Linked DNA regions of Homo sapiens: region 1 is linked to region 2. The links are contacts of gene promoters, found by promoter capture Hi-C in blood cells and fetal thymus (Javierre and others, 2016). All regions are on one chromosome and are shown on one strand. Each heading gives the region's core, a stretch centred on a gene start or on the middle of the fragment in contact. The rest is flanking DNA. Distances are from core to core; before and after follow the strand shown.

Evidence for each region. The method cuts DNA at HindIII sites, captures the fragments that hold promoters and counts their contacts. A CHiCAGO score of 5 or more calls a contact.
Region 1: the fragment with the promoter of KLHL6-AS1 here is called in contact with the fragment with the promoter of ALG3 in region 2 in 2 of 17 cell types (neutrophils and naive B cells); the score reaches 5.9 in neutrophils.

The regions. Positions count from the first base shown.
Region 1 is chr3:183,544,832-183,551,380 of GRCh38, reverse strand. It overlaps KLHL6-AS1 (KLHL6 antisense RNA 1), which reads right to left and starts at 2,646. Exons shown (of 2, transcript NR_046687.1): 1 at 2,418-2,646. All of the region lies in intron 1 of KLHL6 (kelch like family member 6), which reads left to right. The HindIII fragment of the contact is 1,687 bases long and covers 1,287-2,973 here.
Region 2 is chr3:184,246,151-184,252,399 of GRCh38, reverse strand. It overlaps ALG3 (ALG3 alpha-1,3- mannosyltransferase), which reads left to right and starts at 3,438. Exons shown (of 9, transcript NM_005787.6): 1 at 3,438-3,655. The coding sequence starts at 3,460. It overlaps EEF1AKMT4-ECE2 (EEF1AKMT4-ECE2 readthrough), which reads right to left and starts at 2,728. Exons shown (of 19, transcript NM_014693.4): 1 at 2,510-2,728. The coding sequence starts at 2,705. It overlaps EEF1AKMT4 (EEF1A lysine methyltransferase 4), which reads right to left and starts at 2,728. Exons shown (of 3, transcript NM_032331.4): 1 at 2,510-2,728. The coding sequence starts at 2,705. RefSeq lists enhancers at 2,842-2,951, 2,982-3,041, 3,122-3,171, 3,370-4,113, 4,114-4,857. The HindIII fragment of the contact is 5,512 bases long and covers 338-5,849 here.

The DNA of each region.
Region 1 (6,549 bases), core at 1,397-3,896, 700 kb after region 2:
AAACAATCTACCAGTTCCATTTCCTCAGAATCCTCCTGCCTTGCATCATGTTACACATGTTCCCTGGATTTGCACGCTGGCTGGGATTCACCTGCTTCTCCATCATTCCCCGGGACTGTCTGCTATGTTGAATGGAGCCTTCTCCCTTCAACCCCTATCTTTCTCTTCCCTGGTTTACCATCTTACCCTGATAAGCACATTCTCCAATAACTTCCTAAGAAAGAGTGCATGGGAAGTAATTTTTTTTTTTTTTTTTTTCTGAGACAGAGTCTTGCTCTGTCGCCCAGGCTGGAGTGCAGTGGCAGTATCTCCGCTCATTGCAAGCTCCGCCTCCTGGGTTCATGCCATTCTCCTGCCTCAGCCTCCCTAGTGGCTGGGACTACAGGCGCCCGCCACCACGCCCAGCTAATTTTTTTTTATTTTTAGTACAGACAGGATTTCACCATGTTAGCCAGGATAGTTTCAATCTCCTGACCTCGTGATCCACCCACCTTGGCCTCCCAAAGTGCTGGGATTACAGGCGTGAGCCACTGCGCCCAGCCCATAGGAAGTAAATTTTTAAGGCCTCGCATATATTTTTGTTTTGTTTTGAGACAGGGTCTTGGTCTGTTGCCCAGGCTGGAGTGCAGCAGCTTGATCATGGCTCACTGCAGCCTCCCTGGGCTCAAGCAATTCTTCCACCTCAGCCCCCCAAGTAGCTGGGACCACAGGATGTACCACCATGCCCGGCTAATTTTTGTATTTTTTTAGTAGAGATAGGGTTTCACCATGTTGGCCAGGCTGGTCTGGAACTCCTGACCTCAGGTGATCCACCCACCTCCGCCTCCCAAATTGCTGGGATTACAGCTGTGAGCCACCCACCACGCCTGGCCTTTCTTTGATTTTAAATAACATTTTGATATTTCACAATGATGTGCCTTGGAGGGGTGTGTGTGTGCGTGCGTGTGTGTGTGTGTATGTGTGTTTTACTCCAACCATTATGCTATGCATTTGATGAACCCTTTTAATCTGGAGAGTCACATCCTTTAATCCTGAACATTTCCTCATATTACTGCCTGGTAATTACATGGTTACTGTTTTCCTTGTTTACTATTTCTGGATCACTTATTCAGTAGATGTGGACTTCTAGAACAGTCTCTAGCTTTCTCATCTTCTCTCTCCTGTTGTCCATCCTCTTATCTTTCTGTTTTACTTTCTGGAAGATTTTTCTCAATTTTATCTTCCAACCTGTTGAGAATCTCAGTTTTTAACTTCCAAGACTTTTTTCTTGTTTTATGTATGAAGCTTCCTTTTTATAACATCCTGTTCTTGTTTTGTATAGGTCATATTTTCACTTAATCTCTTTGAGGTTTATATTTTTTAAAAAACCACTCTTCTGTTTTTGTTTGTTTTTTACTGTTTGTTTTCACTGTATTTTTCTCTTTGTTTTTGTCTCTTTTATTCTATTTTATGTATGTATTTATTTATTTCCTAGAGACAAGGTCTCCCTATGTTGCCCAGATAGTTTCAAACTCCTGGGCTCAAGGGATCCTCCTGACCCGGCCTCCCAAAGTGCTAGGATTACAAGCATGAGCCACCACACCTGGCCTCTGTCTTTTATTTTAGAGGCTATACTTAAATATCTGGTAGTCTTTGGATATCTGTTCCTATTTAAGAGTCAAGCACTAACATGGTGAAACCCCATCTCTACTAAAAATACAAAAAATTAGCTGGGCGTGGTGGCACATGCCTGTAGTCCCAGCTACTCGGGAGGCTGAAGCAGGAGAATTGCTTGAATCTGGGAGGCGGAGGTTGCAGTGAGCCAAGATCATGCCACTGCACTCCAGCCGGGGCAACAGAGCAAGACTCAGGTGTCCCGACCTGACGAGTGCCATTCAAGTTGGATTTAGCCATGAAATAAGTTACAAAAAACTTTACATTTATCAGCACTTTGGGAATTTTGAAACTACAGATAAGGGATTATAGATATATAATGCTGAAATATTTACTATCATATTGGTTCTGATCCACAATATTGGAAAATATTAAAAGTGGAAAATATAGGGCCTGACCCTGGTGTTACAATCATTGGCTTCACTTGAGTTCTCAAGTGTACCCACTGTGGCAGCAGCAATCCTCAACACATTTGCTGTTAGCCAGATTTTTAATACAGACCTACATGGCCTTAACTCATTCTTGTTTTTCTTGGCACTTATTCTCTTTTTTAAAATTTGTTTAAATTTTACTTTAAGTTCTGGGATACATGTGCAGAATGCGCGGGTTTGTTACATAGGTATACACGTGCCATGGTGGTTTGCTGCACCTATCAACCCATCATCTAGGTTTTAGGCCCTGAATGCATTAAGTATTTTTCCTAATGCTCTCCCTCCCCTTGTCCCCCACCCGCCGACAGGCCACGGGTTGTGTTGTTCCCCTACCTGTGTCCATGTGTTCTCATTGTTCAACTCCCACTTATGAGTGAGAACATGCGGTGTTTGGTTTTCTGTTGCTGTGTTAGTTTGCTGAGAATGATGGTTTCCAGCTTCATCCATGTCCCTGCAAAGGACATGAACTCATTCCTTTTTATGGCTGCACAGTATTCCATGGTGTATATGTTCTTGGCACTTATTCTATCACCTGGGCTTTCTGACTCTTTTCTGACATCTTACCCCATTATGGAGACAAAGCTCAGGATTACAACATCTACATGTGGCTTAAGAGTAGTCTCTTGCCCCACTTTTCTGCCATGCAGTAATTGGTTAATATGTAATAATGATTAACAAGTGCATAGATTGTGCTCACAATAACCTTCCCATTCCTGGCCTTATGCCTGATTTTTGTAGCTGGCGGGTAAAGTCCTCTCAACATAGCCTCAAGGAACCAGACCTAGAGACTGCGGTACAAGACAGGAGTGAGACAGGAATCCAGACAAGGATTCCAGGCAGCAGCATCAACAAAGGAGATTGCTAATGACTCAGCCTCAGCCTGGAAGCTTTTCTATGCATGAAGGAAGGGCCAGTCATGAGACAGGGCAGAGAAAAGCCTGATAACCCCTCCCCTCATCACTAGGACTCCCCTCCCTCTGCCAACCCTGGGAATCACAGCAGGGCTGCCCTCACAGGTCACTGTCACTTACAGAGTGTGCCATATTTTGCAGTGAGCTGGGCTTCCCAAATGGTGAGAACCAGTTTCTGGTTCTAGCCACAGTGAGGTCCCATATATTTTCAGAGCGCACTGTCTTTTCACCTTGCACACCCTGACCCTGCTTCCTTGTCTCTTTTTTAACCCTTTGATCCAGACTGATGTCCTAAGGCATGCTGGGTCCTTGCTGCTATGGGGGTCTGTCAGCTCAGCCCCCAGACATAAACTGGAATGAATGTTCCAACAGTATCCTGCCTGTGCATGTGTGTATGAGCACAAGGAGGCTCTGATTTTTACATTTCCTCCTCATTTTCAGCTTATGTAGCCTACACTAGCAAAAGAGTCTTGGGGAGCTGAGGGGTCATAGGAAATGACCTGTTAGCCACATTTCTGTTCTCTGTGAAGAGGCCTGTTTTCAGTTTAGACATCATGGGGAAACCACTCTTCCCATCAAAGTGAGCTCCCCCAAGGATGAAATGGACACCATGCTATCTACTTGATATTATGAAGACTGAATGAAATAAAAAGAATCCAGCAAAGTGCCTGAAAAAATGTAGGCCGTCCATATTCCAAACTGGGAAAAAATGCTTAATGCAAAGATTACCACGTCACGTATAAAAACAAAATACTGGAAGCAACCTAAATGTCCACAGTGAGAGAATGATTTTCATATTATGCCTCTGTTGAAATTGGTAGCAATATAATAAATAGTCATTATGAAAAGCATGGAGCACCGTAGGAAAAATATTATAATGAAAACAGGGGGCAAAGCAAGATGCAAAATTGCATGTAAACTATGGAAAGATATGCATGTGAGAAAAGGTAGACAAATAACACCAAAATGAAAACTGTTAACATTATCAGAAAGCCCCATAATCCCTTACCCAAAAATCTGGGAGCCAGATGTGCTTTGCCATTCAGAATTCTTTGGATATTAGCATATCTTAAATGTTATATAGCACCTCCAGCGCTCTTTAGTCTAATGCATTAGTACTTCAGCAGTGAGTATACAAATAGTTGTCCTAAGTGGAATAAATAAAGACTCTGAGGTCGGGTGCAGTGGCTTACTCCTGTAATCCCAGCACTTTGGGAGGCTGAAGCTGGTGGATCACCTGAGGTCAAGAGTTCAAGACCAGCCTGGCCAACATGGTGAAACACCGTCTCTACTAAAAAATATAAAAATTAGCCAGGCACGGTGGCGTGTGCCTGTAGTCCCAGCTACTCAGGAGGCTGAGGCCGGAGAATCGATTGAACCCGGACGGCGGAGGTTGCAGAGAGCTGCGATCATGCCACTGCATTCCAACCTGGACGACAGAGTGAGAGATTCCGTCAAAAAAAAAAAAAAAAAAGACTTATGGCACTGGGGTTTCAGTCCGGACTCGCCACTTGTTGGCTGTGTAAATCTTGGAGGAATTGCTTGGCTCCTCTGAGGCTCAACGCCGATGTCTACAATAGAGCGAGGCTAACAATTTACGTCTACCGATCCCAGCAAGTTGTGAAACGCGAATAGTAAAATGGATTCATTTATTAATTTATTTGCCCCAACACTTTATGCGTGGTAATAAGTCAGATTTCTTGGTTCTGAGAAACAGAAATCAACTCTGGCTTATTCGAGAAGAGGAATTTATGTAAATGATAGTAGGAACTCATAAAATCCCCAAAGAAGTTTGGAGAACCAAACCCAGAAGACAAACAGGTGCAAGGGAGGCTAGACAGGGGCCAGGACCGCAGCCCGAAGCCACCCAGGACTCCTGTGGGGAGGACTTCCCTGCTGCTGTACAATGCTGGGGCCACAGCTGCACAGCTGCAGCCACTGGCACTGCTGTCAGGGCTGTCTCTGGAAGCTGGAGGCTGCTGCTGCTTGTCCTGCCTCCACCCAAGCAGGCTTTCCTCCGACTGGGCTTGTTGATATCAACGGCTTCCAATTCAAAACTATTTGCTAGGCCTGCAATATATGCAGAATAGATGTTAAAGTATCATGAAAACTACACAGTTATGAGGGGATTCCGTGACCCTTGTCACATAGGCATCAGAGATATGGATCCTGAGACCCAAATATGCAAGAAGGTAATTATTAGCACGTTCACTCCTCTGCTCCCTGCAAAACTGTGAGGAGCCCTGGATACACTTGTAGGGATGTGTGGCATGAAGGCATCATCCATCATGGGTGGACTAAAAGCAGGTTGAAAATGCAAGCCATGTGAAGGCAGTGACCACCTTATTCTTCTCCTCGATGCCATTGCAATGGCTGACACTCAGCAGACATCCTGTAAATGCGTGAAGTGAACGAACGCTTGGATCTTCCTCCTGCAGGTCCAGTCACTGATTAAGTAGCATCCTGGCCAGAGCAGGAAGTCCTCACAGAGTTGTGTGGGAAGCTATTGGGCAACTTTAGAAAAGGGAAAGATGATAAAATGTGGCTATCACAGGAAAAATGGGAAGGAACAGTTCCAAAATCCAAAATGCCTCAGAATATTATGGATTGAACCGGTCGCTCATGTGACCACCTGCATACAGATGTGCCATGCATACAATGTGACTCTTGCAGTTCTTTTGTTTTTTTGCACTGGGAGTGGGGAGAGGGGTTCTGCACCAGGGCAGAAGTGCCATTAGGTCCTTTGATTTTTCAAGGAAGTGTCATCTCTGTCACCCCTACCCATGATGTCTAAACTGAAAACAGGCCTCTTCATAGAGAGATCCACAGCATGTGGATATTATTCCAATCAAGATTAGAAAATCTATTCTTCAATTTTAGATAATCTTCCATGCAGCTCCCAACTAAAACACAACAGAGAAATATTTTCATCATTCATAGCTCAAGTTGTGAGCTTTATCCCTGCATCAAACCCATGGATATGCAACTGTCCCTCCATGAAAATGTTTTTTCAGGACAAGGGTCTAACATGGTAAGCACCAAACAGTCCACGAAAAGAGCTGGCCACATGCAGAGCCTTTGTGTTTTTGGTAAAACTGCCATGAGCGCAACATCCATTTGCGCTGCCTCATATTCCTTTATTGGTGAGCATTTTTTGGTTTCGAGGGATAGGAAATCAAGTCAATCAGCTTAGGCAAAGAGAAAGGTATTTGGTCACATTATCAAATCATAGGAAGGGCTGGGATGCAGCAGAGCCCAGGGAGAAGAGGAACCAGGCCCTTTCGTGCAGCCTGCGTGCTCTTTCTCCACCCCTCACTTGGCTTCTCTCAGGTTGGGTTTCTCAGGCTGACTTCTGCCACACGGTTGGGAGTTTGCCTATTGGCTGCTATGAGACTCCTAGCCTTGGCTCTGGAGGGAAAATGAGGGACTTTCTCTACCTGTGGCTTGAAAAACCCCTGGGAAAGACTCTGATTGGCTCAGCCCCATTCAGTTACCCAATCCTAGGCCAATCACTGTGCCAGGGAGGTGGGGCACAATGATCAGCCCAGCCTAGG
Region 2 (6,249 bases), core at 2,189-4,688:
GAGGTGGAATGTAACGTAGAGTATTTCCCAAGTTGTGGGTCCTGTTCTTACATCTTGGGGATTCTAGAAATTCCCCTTTTGATTTTTAGACTTCTTGCCCCTCCTATCCAGAAAAGGATAGTTCCCAGTTAAGCAGATTTTTTTTAAAGCATCAGTTTGGTGAAAAACCAGTCAAGCAGATTTTAAGGCAGTGTTACTCTGCCAATCACCAGCATAAGAATCTGCTGTGAAGCTTGTTGAACATACAGATTCCTGAGACCCACATTAGACCATCCCTGGAATTAGAATCTCACAGTGCAGTCTAGTTCCCCAGGTAATTTTGATACACACTAAAGCTTGAGAAAACAGATCTAAGGTAAATCTATAAATAAGTGCAATGGTTTAAAATCACAGATTCAAGAAAGTGTTTACTTGTGGGGAGAAGGGGTTTTAGGAGGACCACACAGAGAACCTTGAATATACTTTTCATTTTGCCAGGCATTGTTCTAGGTATCCTTCATGCTCATTTAATCAACTTAAAGCCCAATTAATAAATATGCTTATGTTTTTAAGGTTGAGAAAATGGAAGCACAGAAATTCAAGTATTTTGTCCAGGATTACACAGCCAGTATAAGCCGAGCCAAGATTCCAACATAATTCACTGCCTCTGGAGTCCAAGGTGGTTTTTTGTTTGTTTGTTTTTTGTTTTGCTTTGTTTTGAGACAGGGTCTCATTCTGTCGCCTAGGCTGGAGCCCATTGGAGCCATCACAGCTCACTGCAGCCTGGATCTCCTGGCTCAAACGATCCTCCTGCCTCAGCCTCTTGAGTAACTCGGACTATGGGCACAGGCCACCATGCCCAGCTAAGTTTTAATTTTTTTTTTTTTTGAGACAGGGTCTTACTCTGTCACCCAGGCTGGAGTGGAGTGGTGCAATCTCAGCTCACTGCAACCTCCACCTCCTGGGCTCAAGTGATTCTCCTGCCTCAGCCTCCCAAGTACCTGGGATTACAGGCACGTGCCACCACACCTGGCTGATTTTTGTATTTTTAGTAGAGACGGGGTTTCACCATGTTGGCCAGGCTTGTCTTGAACTCCTGACCTCAAATGATCCACCCGCCTTGGTCTCCCAAAGTGTTGTGATTACAAGCATAAGCCACTGCTCTGGCCTAAATTTTTTGTAGAGATGGGATCTCACTATGTTGCCCAGGCTGGTCTTGAGCTCCTGCGATCAAGTGATCCTTCCACCTTGGCCTCCCAAAGTGCTGGGATTATGAGCATGAATCATGAGGCCAGCCCAGAGTCCAAGTTCTTTTCTTTTTTTTTTTTTTTTTTTGAGACAGAGTTTTGCTCTTCTTGCACAGGCTGGAGTGCAATGGCATGATCTTGGCTCACCACAACCTCCGCCTCCCTGGTTCAAGCGATTTTCCTGCCTCAGCCTCCCAAGTAGTTGGGATTATAGGCATGCGCCACCACACCCGACTAATTTTTTGTATTTTTAGTAGAGATGGGGTTTCTCCATGTTGGTCAGGCTGATCTCGAACTCCCGACCTCAGGTGATCCGCCCGCCTTGGCCTCCCAAAGTGCTGGGATTAATGGCGTGAGCCACCGCGCCCAGCCAAGTTATTAACCACTAAATTATACTTTTTTTTCTATCCCTAGTAATGTTCTATTTCTCAAACTGAGTGGAATAGACACACACATTAGATTTGTTATTTATACCTTACATATATATTACATATACCTTTTTTATTTATTAAAGACTTCACTTAAACATACAAAGGCTTTTACAAAGAGCAAAGTAAAAACGACAATTGGAAGAAAATCTGTTGCTCATTCAAACTTTACTAGCGCCTCCAAGGCTGACACTAGGAGAGAACCTCAAGAGGTCAGCCGAACACCCCAGAGCCCTACCTTTCCTCCAGCACGTCTCCCTTTGGGGAATCGTATCACCCTGGGCGGCAATCTCCCCTCCACCCCTAGAGGGTGCTGTTCTCACTCTCTAAGGCATAGGACCAAGTTTCAGACAGGACTCTCTCTAGGTGACTCTGGCTCCCAGTGCCCAGGGGCAAAAAGAAAAGCGCTGGGCATTATTCTCGAGGTGCCTGCGCGTGCCGCCTCCGATGTGAACTCGCAGTACCATTTCTAGAACTGAATCTAAAGCTCAGAACGGGTTCATGACTTGTCCTAAGTTTTACAAGTCAATTAGCGCTAGGACTTGATCTCGGTCCTCTGAGCAATCCGGTCCCCAAGGCTGCCTGCCTCCCGAGGGTCCGGACAGGGTCTTGGGTACCCCCAACGCTCAAACTCTGAGGGACTGTCTTTCTCCAGAGGGCCCCGGGACCAACAATCTCTTACTCCTGTTAGCCTTGACTAAATACAGCCGGGACTCTGAAGGAGCTGGATCTCGCGTCCCAACGCAGGCGTCCTCCAAGAGGGATAGACAGGCGGGAGGAAAGCGGACCAGGCCAAGCCCATGCGGCGCCGGTCCTGCCAGCTCTACCTGGCGGGGCCGCGCCGGGATTACCCACCTAGCACAAGGATACGGTCCTCGGGCCGCAGCTCCGGCTCTAGGAGGGCACGGAAGGAGGAGAAGTCCCCGAACCAATCGTAGGGGGCAGAATCGGCTGCGCCTTGGTAGCGCTGATCCCAGTACTCGACTTCGCGGTACCCGCAGTTCCGCTCCGGTAACTCCGGAGGCGCCCTACCTGCCCCTGGAGAGGCCATGCTCTCAACCGCCGGGCAGCCAGAGCCGCCGGCCCTTCAGCCAATACGGAAGGCAGGATGCAGAAGGCGGGGCGCTGGTGTCTCCGCCCACCACCTGCAGTTGCTCAACACAAACACGTGGAACTTCCGTCCTTTACTAAGCGCTCTTCGAAGAATCCTCCGGCTGGGAAAACTATCGTCCAGACCCTGAATCCTCCGGCTGTACTGCCAAGTCATTTCCTAGGGCCGCACTCAAGGTGTCAGACTCACGTGGGCTCATCACTGCGTCCTCTCATATTTTCAATATGAATGACTTTTATCAGGAAATCTGAAAATTAGTGAAAGGTTCATTTTTCTCAGCATCCGGAAGGCTCGAAGGGCAGGCAGGAGGGGCGCGAACAGGGGCTTTGCCCTCCTGGAGAGACAGCATGAACACAGATGTTCCCAGCGCAGGCGAAGGAGAATGCTGGCTTCAGCGGTTGTGGGGGAGGTAGGCAGGAATGTTGCTTTTCTGGACATTCGTTCTAAATTAGCGCCTGTGTACCCAGGGCTGGGTATAAACTGAGGAGTAAGACATTGTCCCTGCTCCTATGGAGCGTGGAGTGCATCAGAGGAGACAAATGCAGAAAAATTACATTTTAGTGGAGTAAATGAAGACTGGCTACTCGGATCGGCGCTTAGCCTGGTGGGACGCCAGGCACGGGAAGCGGAACCTAAGTGTCGAAGGTTCGGGTTTCCGGGGGTGGTGGGCCCACACAAGCGGCGCACCGTTAAGATGGCGGCTGGGCTGCGGAAACGCGGCCGGTCCGGTTCCGCGGCCCAGGCAGAGGGACTCTGCAAGCAATGGCTGCAGCGCGCCTGGCAAGAGCGGCGCCTGCTGCTGCGGGAGCCGCGCTACACGCTGCTGGTGGCCGCCTGCCTCTGCCTGGCGGAGGTGGGCATCACCTTCTGGGTCATTCACAGGGTGGCATGTGAGTGCGCCGAGGGGGAGGGGAGGGGAGGGAGGGAGACCTGAACCCGCGACCCAAACTGGATCTCAGACCTGGAACTCCAAACCAGACTCTGTATCCACTCACTCGTCAATTGCGAACCCATCCATATCCCTTACCTGAGCGCCAAGCCTGCTCTACAGAAAACCGGATCTTAATCTGCCCGCATGGCAGAGGTGGATACCCTAGAGATTGGCCTTCTGCACTGAACTTACAGCCTGCAAACCAGCTTAGAAGTCAGATTTGAGCCAAAATTGTTGTACTGCTGCTGCTGCTGCTTTTCTCTGTGGCTTTGGACACCTCAGGTCTCCTCCTGGATCTCAGCTTTTTCCATGTGTTCAGTTCTGTGATCTTTGAACGTCCCTTCTCAATGATGGCATCTTGTGACCACTTGAGTCCATTAGGCATTATTGGCTACTCCTTTCCAGGCTGAAACTATACTCTAGGCTTAAGGCACTTGGCTTTCTTGCTAAAGACTCTTAATTCAACAAATATTTATTTAGTGCTTATTATATGCCTAGCATTATGCTGGTTACCAGAGAGAGGTACAGTGGTGAATAAGAGATGCATTTCTGCCGGGCGCGGTGGCTCACGCCTGTAATCCCAGCACTTTGGGAGGCCGAGGCGGGCGGATCACGAGGTCAGGAGATCGAGGCCATCCTGGCTAACACGGTGAAACCCCGTCTCTACTGAAAAAAAAAAAAAAAAAAGAATTTAGCCGGGCATGGTGGCGGGCGCCTGTAGTCCCAGCTACTCGGGAGGCTGAGGCAGGAGAATGGCGTGAACCCGGGAGGCAGAGCTTTCAGTGAGCCGAGATCACGCCACTGCACTCCAGCCTGGGCGACAGAGCAAGACTCCGTCTCAAAAAAAAAAAAAGAAAAAGGATGCATTTCTAACTCGGGCCTGGACAGTAAGTTAGCAGGCAATTATAATGCATCATAATCATGGTAGTAGTAACACAGGATACCATAAAGGGCATAGGAAGTCACTTAAACCAGGTTGGAGGAGTCAGCAAAGGCTTCATAGAGCCACCCTTGGAAGGTAGGAATTAGCTATTTAAGGAAAGAAGAAAAAGGTGAGGGGAAGGAGTGCTGTGGACAGAGGATCCTCTATTAAAAATCTCCAGCTAGGCTGGGCGCAGCGGCACACGCCTGTAATCCCAGCACTTTGGTAGGCCTAGGCGGGTGGATCTCCTGAGGTCAGGAATTTGAGACCAGCCTGGCCAACATGATGAAATCCTGTCTCTACTAAAAATACAAAAATTAGCTGGGCGTGGTGGCATATGCCTGTAATCCCAGCTACTCGGGAGGTTGAGACAGGAGAATTGCTTGAACCCGGGAGGTGGAGGTTGCAGTGAGCCGAGATTGCGCCACTGTACTCCAGCCTGGGTGACAGAGCAAGCTCCGTGTCAAAAAAAAAAAAAATTCAGTTAGACTGGGCACGGTGGCTCATGCCTGTAATCCCAGCACTTTGGGAGGCTGAGGTGGGCGGATCACTTGGGGGCAGGAGTTAAAGACCAGCCTGGCTGGGCACGGTGGCTTATGCCTGTAATTCTAGCACTTTGGGAGCCCGAGGCGGGCAGATCACCTGAGGTCAGGAGTTCAACACCAGCCTGGCCAATATGTTGACACCCTGTCTCTACTAAAATAGAAAAATTAGCTGGGCATGATGGCAAGTGCCTGTAATCCCAGCTACTTGGGAGGCTGAGATGGGAAAATGGCTCGAACCGGGGAGATGGTGGTTGCAGTGAGCTGAGATCGCACCACTGCACTCCAGCCTGGGTGGCTGAGCGAGACCCTGTCTCAAAAGAAAAACAAACAAACAAACCAGCCTGGCCAACACGGTGAAACCCCATCTCTACTAAAAATACAAAACTTAAAAAATTAGCCAAGCATGGTGGCACACACCTGTAGTCCCAGCTACTCGGGAGACTGAGGCAGGAGAATCACTTGAACCCGGGAGGCGGAGGTTGCAGTGAGCTGAGATCGTACCACTGCACTCCAGTCTGGGTGACAGAGTGAGACTCTGTCAAAAAAAAAAAAAAAAGAAGACAGCCTGGTTCCTTTGAGGAACTGAAATGATTTTTTTAGAGCTAGAGTGTAGAAATCAAGTGAAGGGAGTAGTAAGAGATGGGAATGCAGAAACTGAGGCCAGATCATGAAGGAATTTGAAAGCTTTGTTAAGAAGATAGCATGATAATTAAGAACTTGGGACCCTGCAAGCTTCAATCCCAACTCCACCATCCTAGCTCAATTATCTTAAGCCAGTCACTTAACCTAATTAATTCTTAGGCTCCCCTTCAAAAAATGGGAATAATACAGAGTTTTCTTTATCTTAAGGGTCTTGGGGAATCATTGAGAGGTTTTAAGCAGAGGCCTGTTATGATTTGTATTTTAGGAGGAGCTCTTTGGTGTACGAGGTGGAAAATATATTGTAGCAGGGTGAAAGTAGAAGTCAGGAGCCTAATTAGCAGGCTATTGTATACTCATTGGGGCTAGAGATTACTTTAGGCTCAAATTTGAGTATGTAGTAGCAGAGAAGGATGAGATAGAGATATTTACGGTGAGGAACAGGCA